2 separate regions of the Homo sapiens genome follow, and region 2 is linked to region 1. Evidence: promoter capture Hi-C in human tissues and cell types (Jung and others, 2019). All regions are on one chromosome and are shown on one strand. Each heading gives the region's core, a stretch centred on a gene start or on the middle of the fragment in contact. The rest is flanking DNA. Distances are from core to core; before and after follow the strand shown. Region 1 holds the start of ME3 (malic enzyme 3). Region 2 overlaps ME3 (malic enzyme 3).

The links. The method cuts DNA at HindIII sites, captures the fragments that hold promoters and counts their contacts. A contact is called where the count stands out against the background at its distance.
Region 2: a fragment that was not itself captured here is called in contact with the fragment with the promoter of ME3 in region 1 in 2 of the 25 tissues and cell types used here (IMR-90 fibroblasts and aorta).

Annotation. Positions count from the first base shown.
Region 1 is chr11:86,670,449-86,676,087 of GRCh38, reverse strand. It overlaps ME3 (malic enzyme 3), which reads left to right and starts at 3,472. Exons shown (of 15, transcript NM_001161586.3): 1 at 3,472-3,764; 2 at 4,130-4,326. The coding sequence starts at 4,144. RefSeq lists a silencer at 807-1,101. The HindIII fragment of the contact is 8,709 bases long and covers 2,326-5,639 here.
Region 2 is chr11:86,520,630-86,526,268 of GRCh38, reverse strand. The region is part of intron 4 of ME3 (malic enzyme 3); the gene reads left to right. Among named protein-coding and RNA genes, the nearest start is that of CCDC81, 150 kb to the right of the region's middle. RefSeq lists an enhancer at 1,587-2,786. The HindIII fragment of the contact is 7,481 bases long and covers 1-5,639 here.

The DNA.
Region 1 (5,639 bases), core at 2,223-4,722:
GGGCACATAAGCAGAGTGATGAGTATGCAGACCAGGAAGAAATAAATGATCCCCATAATTCTCCTTTGCTGCAAATAATAATAATAATGATAGAGTTGAAGTGCTTACAAATATTACTAGCAGCAATATGAATTTAAAGAGTTCTTTGGGGCAATCATGAACATTAAATGTTGTGCAGAATATTACGAATAAGTTTGTGAAGCAATGGGATTAACTGAAAAATAATGAATTTTATATTCACCTCCTTTTTAAAATCCATGTGTAAGGTCATTAACATCTGCTTTCAGAAGATAAGAGATCTTGTTTTAAGATAGCTGACTGAGTTAAAAATCTGACTTGAAGCCATTTTGTGCCCTTTTAACAATGTACCAAATTTAGTTTCAATTAATTCCACTCCTTGGAAGGTTATGCACAAATTTGAACCACAATTATATTTAATTCAAGAAACTGAGTTAATTCTAAGTGCCAGGCACTTTCCCAGGTATAGAGATGCAAAGAATTATAAATGGTGGTTGTAGTCATCAAGGAATTCACAATCTAGTAGGGAAACAGGTAGATATTTAAATCTCTGTAATCAAAATGGAAAAGCAAAAGTATTAACTATACCTGGAATATGGAACTGTTGGCTGGAGGAGATGGAATGAGATTCCTTCTCTGCCATCCCAAGAAGCATCATTACAATGATGGCAGAAGTCAGTAAATGGGATATGAAAGGAGAGGGGCCAAGACAAATTATGGAGACCCATTAGTTCTATATAGTGCTGGACCAGATCACCAGATCACAAGCCAACTTCCTGGCTGGCTAAGGAAGTCAGAGTTGTATGGAGTTGGAAGAAGATCTGTAATGTTTCCATGGTTCTGAACCTGGTCTCTGAAATCCTATATTCAGCTCTAAAAGTAAGGAAGTTGCCACAAAAGCAGAAATGGAAACCACACGTGCCAATAAAAACAGCTCACAGTTTCTGATCACCCACTACGGGCTAAGCACTTCAACAGAAAATGAGTATTATATTTAGACTTCTAGTTAGTGGTCCCTAGGAACCATTCTCCCCTTCTTCCTTTTAGTAATAGACTCCCCACTGAACTTCAGTAGAGCACATACATGCCTTTCCTACTACAAACAATATTTTCCAGCCCTCCCTGTAGCTTGATATGAATGTGTGACTTAGTTTTTACCAATGGAATGTGAGTAGAAGTAATATATACAACTTTCATGTCACTTCCACAGAACAGATTTGCTTTGGCTGGGCATAGAGGTTCACGCCTGTAATCCCAGCACTTTGGGAGGCCGAGGCAGGAGGATTGCTTGAGCCCAGGAGTTCAAGAACAGCCTAAACAACACAGTGAGACCCTGTCCCAATTAAAAAAACAAATCGATTTGCTTTCCCTCTGTTTCCTTGTTCCCGCTTTCCACGGCTGGGATGCTAACATGGTGTTAGCGCTGTGTAGAGGCGGGCAACAGCTACAGAAGAGCCTGGCAGCAAAAGAGAAAACCTGGGTCCCTGGACAACTGTATGGAACTGAGAAGCCACCACCTCCTCTTGCTACTGCCTTCTGTCACTGCTCCTGGTGGACCTGCCTTTAACCTTTTCTTTCCTGTCACCAAAGAACAAACACACACACAAAACAACATTGTAGAATTATGCCTGGGTTAAGAGAATATAGGCCACAGGTGAGGACATGTAAGAGACTTTTATATGTAAACTGTACAAGCTTTAGTGAATTGATGCTATAAAAATTATGTTCGCTTGTTTGGAAACCTTTGTTGTTTACATCCTGGTTTCAAATGACTAAAGTTACCTATTAGATATCCTCCAGGGGAGGGAAAGGTCATTGTATTCAGCAAGGGCAAACTGGTTCAACAATCAATTTCCAAATATTTGCATGCACTAGATACCAAAGATGGAAACACACATGATCTCTGCCCCCCAAAGATGTTGACTGGTGGGAAGAAGTGCCAATATAAAAATAGTGTTGAAAGGATTTAGTTAATACTATTGGTTGCACACAATCACACATCTGACACAAACTGGTTTAAGGCAGAAAAAAAGATCATTTATAAGCTTATGTAAATATGCAGTCCAAGAGTAAACCTGACTTCAGGGATGTAAACCCTACTGGATGAGAATCTTCATGGATGGGGCCTGGAAAGCTGTATTTTTGCCCCATCCTTATTTCCTACCAGGTAATTGTAATTCTGTTTTGGAAATAACTATTTTACGTAGATCATTCAAGTTGAAAATTAGATATTACACAGGGAGGAGAGAGACTGCAGGAGGAGACGATTATTCCTGAAGGGATGAGGGAATCCTGAACTCAGGCAGGAGCACCCCTTAGCACATTATGGGCCATGATGTCTGCTTGGTACTTACAACGGGGCTAATGCTGGCACCGGGAGCTTTGAAGGGGTGTCAGCAGAGGACCGTGCCAACTGTCTGTCAGTAAGTCTAAGGGTTCACGATCCTTATGAAAGTGGCTGCCACTTCCCTTCACCTAACAACTATTTATTGTGCAACTACATACCAGGCAGTGAGCTAGGCAGTGAGGACACACAGGTTCACAGGCAAAGAGCCTCTCTTCATGAAGCTTACATTCTAGACAGGAGATAGTCAGTAAACAATCAGAAAAACAAGCGCGCTACTGACTGTGTTAAGTTCTCTAAAGAGAAAAACCCCTTCACTCTATAGTTCCTAGTGCAGGCTGACATTGAATGGGATAGAGGAAAGGCCTTCGAGTTGACAACTTAGTGGAGAACTGAGAGGTGGGAATGAAGTAGTGGTTTGCAAGGCTGGAGTATGAGCCTTCCAAGGAGAGGCAATAGCAAGTGCAAAGGCCCTGCAGTGGGAGGGAACCAAGTGGGGTGAAGACACAGGAAGGATCAAGTATGGCCAGAGATCAGTGAGAAGGAAAGAGTAGAGTAGGATAAGTCTGAAGAGGCTGGCAAGAGCCAGTTTATGGGAAATCTTGTAGGCCCTGAAAGTTTGGATTTTATTCCACACACAACAAAGTGTTTGCTTTAAAAGGAATCTCCTGACTACTGTGTGGAGAAAGTATAAAATTAAGTTTGGGGCTAGATGGACCCCAAGATCCCTGTCTGGCCCCAATAACCCATGGCAAACTCCATGGGGTCCTCAGAAGTCCTCTTAGTAACTGTGGCTCCTATGTCAATGATGCTTAATAGAAGTATCCGCAAAAACAGAAATGTTCTGTATCTGCATACAAGTGGCTCTTGAACTGGAAATGTGGCTAGCGTGACTGCAGAACTGGATGTTAAATTTTATTCTATATAGACTAATTTATTTACGTTTATATAGCCACACGTGGCGAATGGCTATTATATTGGACAGCACAAGGCAACACTGAGCACCGAATGCCTGAGGATTTCTACTCCAAATCCTGAAGGCACGCCCTTCCCCGAATGTTGGGAGAGTGCGAGGATATGCTGACCCCCAAACGCAAATCCCCCTCTGTGCATTTAGTCTTGCCAAGATGGAGAGTCTCAGGCGGGCATTCTGAGCTGCTTCTTGTCACTGGGGAAAACCACGTGCACGCAGTGCTGAGGCGCCCCACGCGCGTCCTCAGGGGAAGCCAGGCACTGAGAACAAAGGTTGTGGGACCGCTCTTTGAGGAACTCACCAGCTCCGCGAGCTCGCGGCCGCCAGCGCGGTCCACCCATTGGCGGGAGAGGACTCACAGACCGCAGCTCCTCACCCCGCCTGCTCCGCAGCGGGACCGCGTAGACCTCAGCTCCCCGAGCAGCGCAGGTGGGCCAGGGAAGGAGAGGACCGAGGCAAGCCACCACGCGGGATTAGGGGTACGGGGACCCCTCGCCGCGCAGTCGCCTCTTTTTCACAGGGATGGGGGCAGGGGTGGCGCCGGCTGTCACCCGCACCGGATCTGCTTCCAGGGCTTGGTTTCGCTTTGCCTGGCTCTTGGCTAGGCCTGGCGCCCCGCGCGGAGCCGAGCAGGTGGCAGCCGAGGAGTGGCGGGGGCTGGAACATTTAACCCTTTGGGAGCACCTGCCCTCTCCCAGAGGGCGCGTCCCCGGATCAGGCCCGGTGCCCCGCAGCGCGCGTGGGTCCTGGCTGGCTGGAAGGAGGCCCTGACCTTGCTTTCTCTCCCGTGCCAGGTCTGCCAAGGACCATGGGTGCCGCGCTGGGGACAGGCACGCGGCTGGCTCCCTGGCCGGGCCGGGCCTGCGGCGCCCTCCCGCGCTGGACACCCACCGCGCCCGCCCAAGGCTGCCACTCCAAGCCTGGCCCGGCGCGCCCTGTGCCCCTGAAGAAGCGCGGATACGATGTCACCAGGAACCCTCATCTCAACAAGGTAATGGGCCAGAGGGCAGGACGGCCCGCGTTGCGATCCCGTGGCTGCCGGAAAATTGCGCCCCGCCCCCTGGACCCAGAAAGGATCCTCCCGGGCGCCCTTCCAGCGGTTTTTCTGTTTTTGCCTTGCAGGGGCTTGTTGTGACTTGGTTTGGCTTTCTTGTCCCTCCTCTCCCTTTTATGCGTGGAGAGAGGCGACCAGTAATGCAGGGAGCCTAATTTCTTCTGCAGTAACAACACAGACCAGGTTTAGATCCTCGCGGTCAGTCTGACCTGCGGTCAGCTCTCCCCTTGATGCTTACTAATTTTATTGGTCTTGGGCAGTTCATTTAACCTACATGAGCCTAGGTTTCCTTATCTGTAAAAGAGATATAATTGTCTTAGGAATGTCGTGAGATCTAAAGAGAAAATGCGGGTAGAAAATGGGGGTACGTTAGAACAGTGCCTGGTACCCAGTGGGAGAATAAATAAGGTTATGATTATTATTCTGAGAAAAAGATTAATTTGAGAGCAAGGATGGAAAAGTCTAGACTTATAGAAATTTTCGAGCTTGCAGGAGCATTAGAGATCCTAGTTTAAACCTCTTCTTTTACAAAAAACAAGACAAAGGAAACTTGCCCAAGGTCACCAGCTAGTTAGTTCTGGCTCTGCCACTGGAATCCAGATCTCCAATGCTTTGGTCGAGTTCAACCCACCGCTAGCTCTTTTGTATTTGTTTTTGGGAATAGAGTTTAGTATCTTTGGTTCAGAGGATTGGGTGAGAGAAATAGAAGCAAGGACAGATTTAGTCCTGTCTCCCCCTACCTCCTCAAATTAACTCACATATCTCATTTAACTTATCTGAGGCCCAACTTTCTCCAGCCTAAAATAGATATTATGATAGACCCACCATTTCTATCTCATTTGGTTATTGTGACAATAAAATGAATCACTGAACTTGAAATCATATTTTAAACTGTATAAAGTGCTGAATAACAATTACTGCAAAATAAATTTTTTTTTCATAATTGCTCTGACTCTGGATTGTGAAATTCAGGTGAGGCAGTCTGTATGGAAAAGATGTTTTTGAGAAGTAGGAACAACTATATAATGTGAAGTATTGTGACTGTTTCCTACAGAACTAATAGAAGCGGCTAAGGAAAAAAAAATCAAAATCAACCTCTATCACATTGGAGTCCTGCTCTTTCCAAAAGAAACCTTAAATTGTTTGGACGCTACCACTTTCCAAAGTGTTCAAGGTGTTTGTTATCACCTTGAATTACTTTGCTAGTAAGCGTTAGAAAATACAAACTGGCTTAAGCACACAAAGGCTCC
Region 2 (5,639 bases), core at 1,391-3,890, 150 kb after region 1:
ATGAGCAAGGCTCCATGGGCATAGGACCCTCCGAGCCATGCACGGGATATAATCTCCTGGTGTGCCATTTGCTAAGACTGTTGGAACAGCGCAGTATTAGGGTGGGAGTGACCCGATTTTCCAGGTGCCGTCTGTCACCCCTTTCTTTGACTAGGAAAGGGAACTCCCTGACCCCTTGTGCTTCCTGGGTGAGGCAATGCCTCGCCCTGCTTCGGCTCATGCTCGGTGCGCTGCACCCACTGTCCTGCATCCACTTTCTGACACTCCCCAGTGAGATGAACTCGGTACCTCAGTTGGAAATGCAGAAATCATACGTCTTCTCTGTTGCTCACGCTGGGAGCTGTAGACTGGAGCAGTTCCTATTAGGCCCTCTTGGCTCCACCCTCTCCTTTTTTTTTTTTTTTTTGAGACAGAGTTTTGCCCTTGTTGCCCAGGCTGGAGTGCAATGGCACGATCTCACCTCACTGCAACCTCTGCCTCCTGGGTTCAAGCAATTCTCTTACCTCGGTCTCCCTCGGTAACTGAGATTATATGCACCTGCCACCACACACGGCTAATTTTTGTATTTTAGTAGAGATGGGGTTCACCATGTTGGTCAGGCTGGTCTTGAACTCCTGACCTCAGGTGATCCACCCACCTTGGCCTCCCAGAGTGCTGGGACTACAGGCGTGAGCCACTGCACCCGGCCTCTGTGTGTTCTTAAAGGTGAACTGAATCTTTTGTAGGCAAAATATAGTGGGTCTTTTTTTTTTTTTTTAAACCATTCAGCCACGTTAGCCTTTTGATAGGAGAATTAATTCATTTACATTCAAAGTAATTATTGATAAGTAAGGACTCACTACTGCCATTTTTTTAATGGTTTCCTGGTTATTTTGTGGATCCTCTGTTCCTTTCTTCCTCTCTTGCTGTTGTGGTTTGACTGTTTTCTGTCAACATCAAAAGTTTCTGTTAGAAACTTTTCTTCAAAGAATTAGGTATTTGAATAGAAATGTATCAGGCATTGTGCTCACTACTTTTCATATATTATCTTTAATTGTCACTGCTCTATTGGAAACATTTCATTGCCCCTATTTTACAGATGAGAAAACTGAGGCTCAACTGTAGTCATTTGTCAAGGTCACTACTAACCAGATGACCTAGAATTTGGGTCTAAGTCTGTCTGACTGTCTGCTCTGAAGCTTCCCAATAATATCAATGTTTTGCAAGTTGGAGTGGGTCTCACTGGAACTTATCCCTGACCAGAGACACACACATCTTTTCTCAATCATTTCAAAGCAAATACTTTTTTGGCCTTTAACTTTCCTGATCTTGAATGTTCTGAGATTCCTTCCTTTCGAGGGATTTGTAGTTTGGAGGCGGAACTTAGTCAAAACAACACATTAGATCAAATGTGTGCTTCTCCCCTTCCCCCTGCTTAATTGCATCTGATGAGTAATCCTTTCAGACATATAATTCCAGGCACTTAGCTGTCTCTTACATTTGCTTCCAGGGATCATGGTCCCTGAAGTTTAAGCATATGTTTTCCCAGTGAACTTCTGTGCACTTTGAAAACTGCATTCTGTTCTCTCTTATTAAATTCCAGCTTTCATAACTAATATGCAATGATAGCTCCAGAAATGTTTATCTGGTAAATTAAAGTGGGTGGGGTCTTCCACTTACAAATTACTTCAGGATAGGACTCAGATGCCTGCCCATAGAACTGCCTCATAAATGCTAGCATAAAATGGATTCGAGCTTTTACAATTTCAGCTTTTTCTTGGTTTAGGGGACTATTATCTTGGTGTATCTTCACAGGGTTCTGAGCTCCTAGCCTATTTCTTAAACTGAGGCTGCAGATTTATGATTCAGTGGAAAAAAATGTGTGACTACTTCTCAAACCTGCTTTGGAAAAACAAGCAGATAGGATGTTTTTCTCTCCTTATCTTGTAGTTACATGTAAATAAATGACTCATTGGCTGCGCCTCTGAGTCAGGGGGACAGTAATTTCAGAATCGCAGGTTTGATGATTATTTGCTTTGGATATCAAATGTTTGTATTAGAACAGAGACACATTCCAAACAACTTACTGCCCAGAGACCCAGATTCACTAGAGGCCTTCTAGACGTCAGGAAGGTGTTTGTTTTATAAAGTGGAGGCATGTGTGGGTCTGTGCCATGTTCACAGCCATAAAAGAAAGTGAAGAGTGTTAAGTGTGACTTTTCAGGGAAAGGGGCCTAAAGCCTCTGATTATTATTTCTGAAGGAGTAAATATTTTAGTAGAAAAAGAAACTTCTTTGTACCAACTCTCTCTGAGTTTCTTGGCACATTTTAATATTCTAAGTAACAGCTGAAACTACATTAACTTTCTCTGTTCTAATTGGAAACATCTGTGACTTGTGGAATTAGAATTTTTAGATTCTGAAGTGATATTCTATTTGGACAGAGGTGTCAATTTCAGCTGAAATTTCCTTCTATTCCGCCTTTTTTCCCCCTCCTGATTATAAAATGTTCAGTCAGCTAATGATGTGATGGAGGTTCAAGGCCTTCTTCATCAGCTTTTCCATGTACTCACGATTTTTAGTGAAAATTGCATGTATACTTCTTCAGCTATTTGCACACCTTATCAGCATTCTTCTTATTCAAGAAGAACAGATGGAGAAACTCTTTCAACTCTTGGAACTCAACTGGAACAATTATTTTCTGCCAAAAATAAAATCTCATAATCAAAAAAGAGGATAGAGCAATATCTGAGATTTGCAAATTCCAGGAAGAAAAAAAAGAGTACAAACAATTAGAAACCTATTTCAGTTTTTCTCTGTGTTAATAGAAGCCTGTCTTCTATAGGGCTTAGTGTTTTACAATCATCACCTGAAACTCCAACAAGAAAGGCAAGAAGGCACAATGGTTTCTTACCTGCTTTCCCTTACTACTTTGCCAACTTACCTCAGTGATATTACCTCATTTTATTGAGCTTCGTTAATCTCAGGTGTAAATGAGGACAACAACATATACCTCCCAGACTTGTGGCAGTAAGTAAATGGCATAGCATTTATAAAATGTTCCCAATGGGAGCTAAATAAATGTTGGCTTCTTTTTTTCTTCTTTCTTACTTTTTACATATGGCAACTAAGGCAATAATGACATGACTTGCCTCAGTCCAAAGATCAGGTCTTCAAGGAGCCAACAGTAGGACTGAGGTTTGCTGGTTTAACACCTTTAAGTCTCCCTCCATAGAGTTTGGCAAAGAGTGAATTGAAGACTACCAAAAAGTCATGAAGGGCAAAAGACTGTGGGTGATATATAATCAACCTCCCAGACCCCCTTCCCCCCGGATACCAAAATCCATGGATGCTCAAATCCCTGATATAAAATGGTATAGTATTTGCATATAACATACATATCCTACAATATACTTTAAATCATCTCTAGATTACTTACTATATCTAATACAATGTAAATTCTACGTAAATAGTTGTTACAAGACTTGGAACCAACCCAAATGCCCATCAGTGATAGACTGGATAAAGAAAATGTGGCACATATACACCATGGAATACTATGCAGCCATAAAAAAGAATGAGATTGTGTCCTTTGCAGGGATATGGATGAAGCTGGAAGCCATCATTCTCAGCAAACTAACACAGAAACAGAAAACCAAACTCCACATGTTCTCGCTCACATGTGGGAGTTGAACAGTGAAAACACACAGACACAGGGAGGGGAATAACATACACTGGGGCCTGTCGGCGGGTCAAGGAGGGGGCGGGGTAAGGGAAGGGATAGCATTAGGACAAATACCTAATGCATGTGGGGCTTAAAACCTAGATGACAGGTTGACAGGTGCAGCAAACCACCATGGCACATGTATACCTATGTAACAATACATTCTGCACATATATCCTAGAACCTAATGTAAAAAAAAAAAAAAGAAAAAAATAGTCATTACACTACATTTTTAATTTGTGTTATTTTTTACCATTTTTTTAATTGGCCTTTTTTTCTTAATCTGGTTTTTTGTTTGTTTGTTTGTTTGTTTGTTTGAGACAGAGTCTTGTTCTGTCACCCAGGCTGGAGTGCAATGACGCAGTCTTGGCTCACTGCAACCTCTGCCTCCCGAGTTCAAGCAATTCTCCTACCTCAGCCTCCTGAGTAGCTGGGACTACAGGTGCGTGCCACCACACCCAGCTAATTTTTGTATTTTTAGTAGAGATGGGGTTTTGCCATGTTGGCCAGGCTTGTCTCAAACTCCTGACCTTAGGTGATCTACCAACTTCGGCCTCCCAAAGTACTGGGATTACAGGTATGAGTCACCATGCCCGGCCTTTTTTCCTAGTATTTTCAATCCACAGTAGGTTGAATCCAAGATGTAGAACCTGTGGATATGGATGGCCAACTGTAAGCCACTTCACAGAGGCTTTGTGTTATTACCAGGATTTTAATTAATGACTACACAGGGAAAGGACTCAAAATAATGCTAAGAGAATGAGCTTGACTTTCTATAGTAGACACCTAGAAAATGTAGTTTTGAAATTAGTAGACTGGATCTACAGATCAGTGAGTTTTTGAGAGTGAAAAGAAAAATAAATAATTGTGTTAATAATTGTGTCAAGACACAGGGAAACTAAAGTATGTGGTTGCCCTGTCCATGAACCATAGCATGAAATTCTGTGTCTCTTGGAGAGGCAGTGACATTCATACCTTTGACAAACATTTCTTAAATTCCACCTGAAAATTTAAAGAGAGGCTCCTTTACGACTGACTTTGTACATGTATTATTTTATTTAATGCTCACACCAGCTTAGTGAGATAGATTTAATGATTACAGCTCCATTTTTTTATTATTATTATTATTATTATTTTTGTTTTGTTTTGTTTTGTTTTGTTTGTTTGTTTTTGAGATGGAGTCTCGCTCTGTCGCCCAGGCTGGAGTGCAGTGGCGCAGTCTCGGCTCACTGCAAGCTCCGCCTCCTGGGTTCACGCCATTCTCCTGCCTCAGCCTCTGAAGTAGCTGGGACTACAGGCGCCCGCCATCACGCCCGGCTAATTGTTTTGTAGTTTTTAGTGGAGACAGTGTTTCACCGTGTTAGCCAGGATGGTCTCAATCTCCTGACCTCGTGCGTGATCCGCCCGCCTCGGCCTCCCAAAGTGCTGGGATTACAGGCGTGAGCCACTACACCCGGCCACAGCTACATTTTAATAATAAGCAATGGAGATTCGGTGGAGTTAAATAATATGCCAAAGTTGCACAATAAATAAGGGTTGGATTTGGGCTTTGAACCCAGGTCTGTCTAGCTCCGAGTCACAGATAACTGCGTGCCTTGGTAGATTAGAGTCATGGAACTCTAGAGTTTTGGAAGTTATCTGTTCTACCTTCTTCATCTTACCGACTGAGGAACAGGCTCAGAGAGGTCTGGTAACTTTCCCAAACTCACATAGTTAGATATAGTCGTAGAAAAACTTACATTGCCCTTGTTCTAAATGCTCCATTCTCACATTCAGAGAAAGGAATAGACCATCTATGCAGAAATCCCTTTCTGAAGTAAACACTATGTTTGCAGGGCTGCATTAGGGGACCCATGCAATCAGTGGAAGTGGAGGATACAGTTCCTGCCCTTCTGAGCTTCAAGTCTACTGGAGGAAAATCATCCTGCAGGAACAAG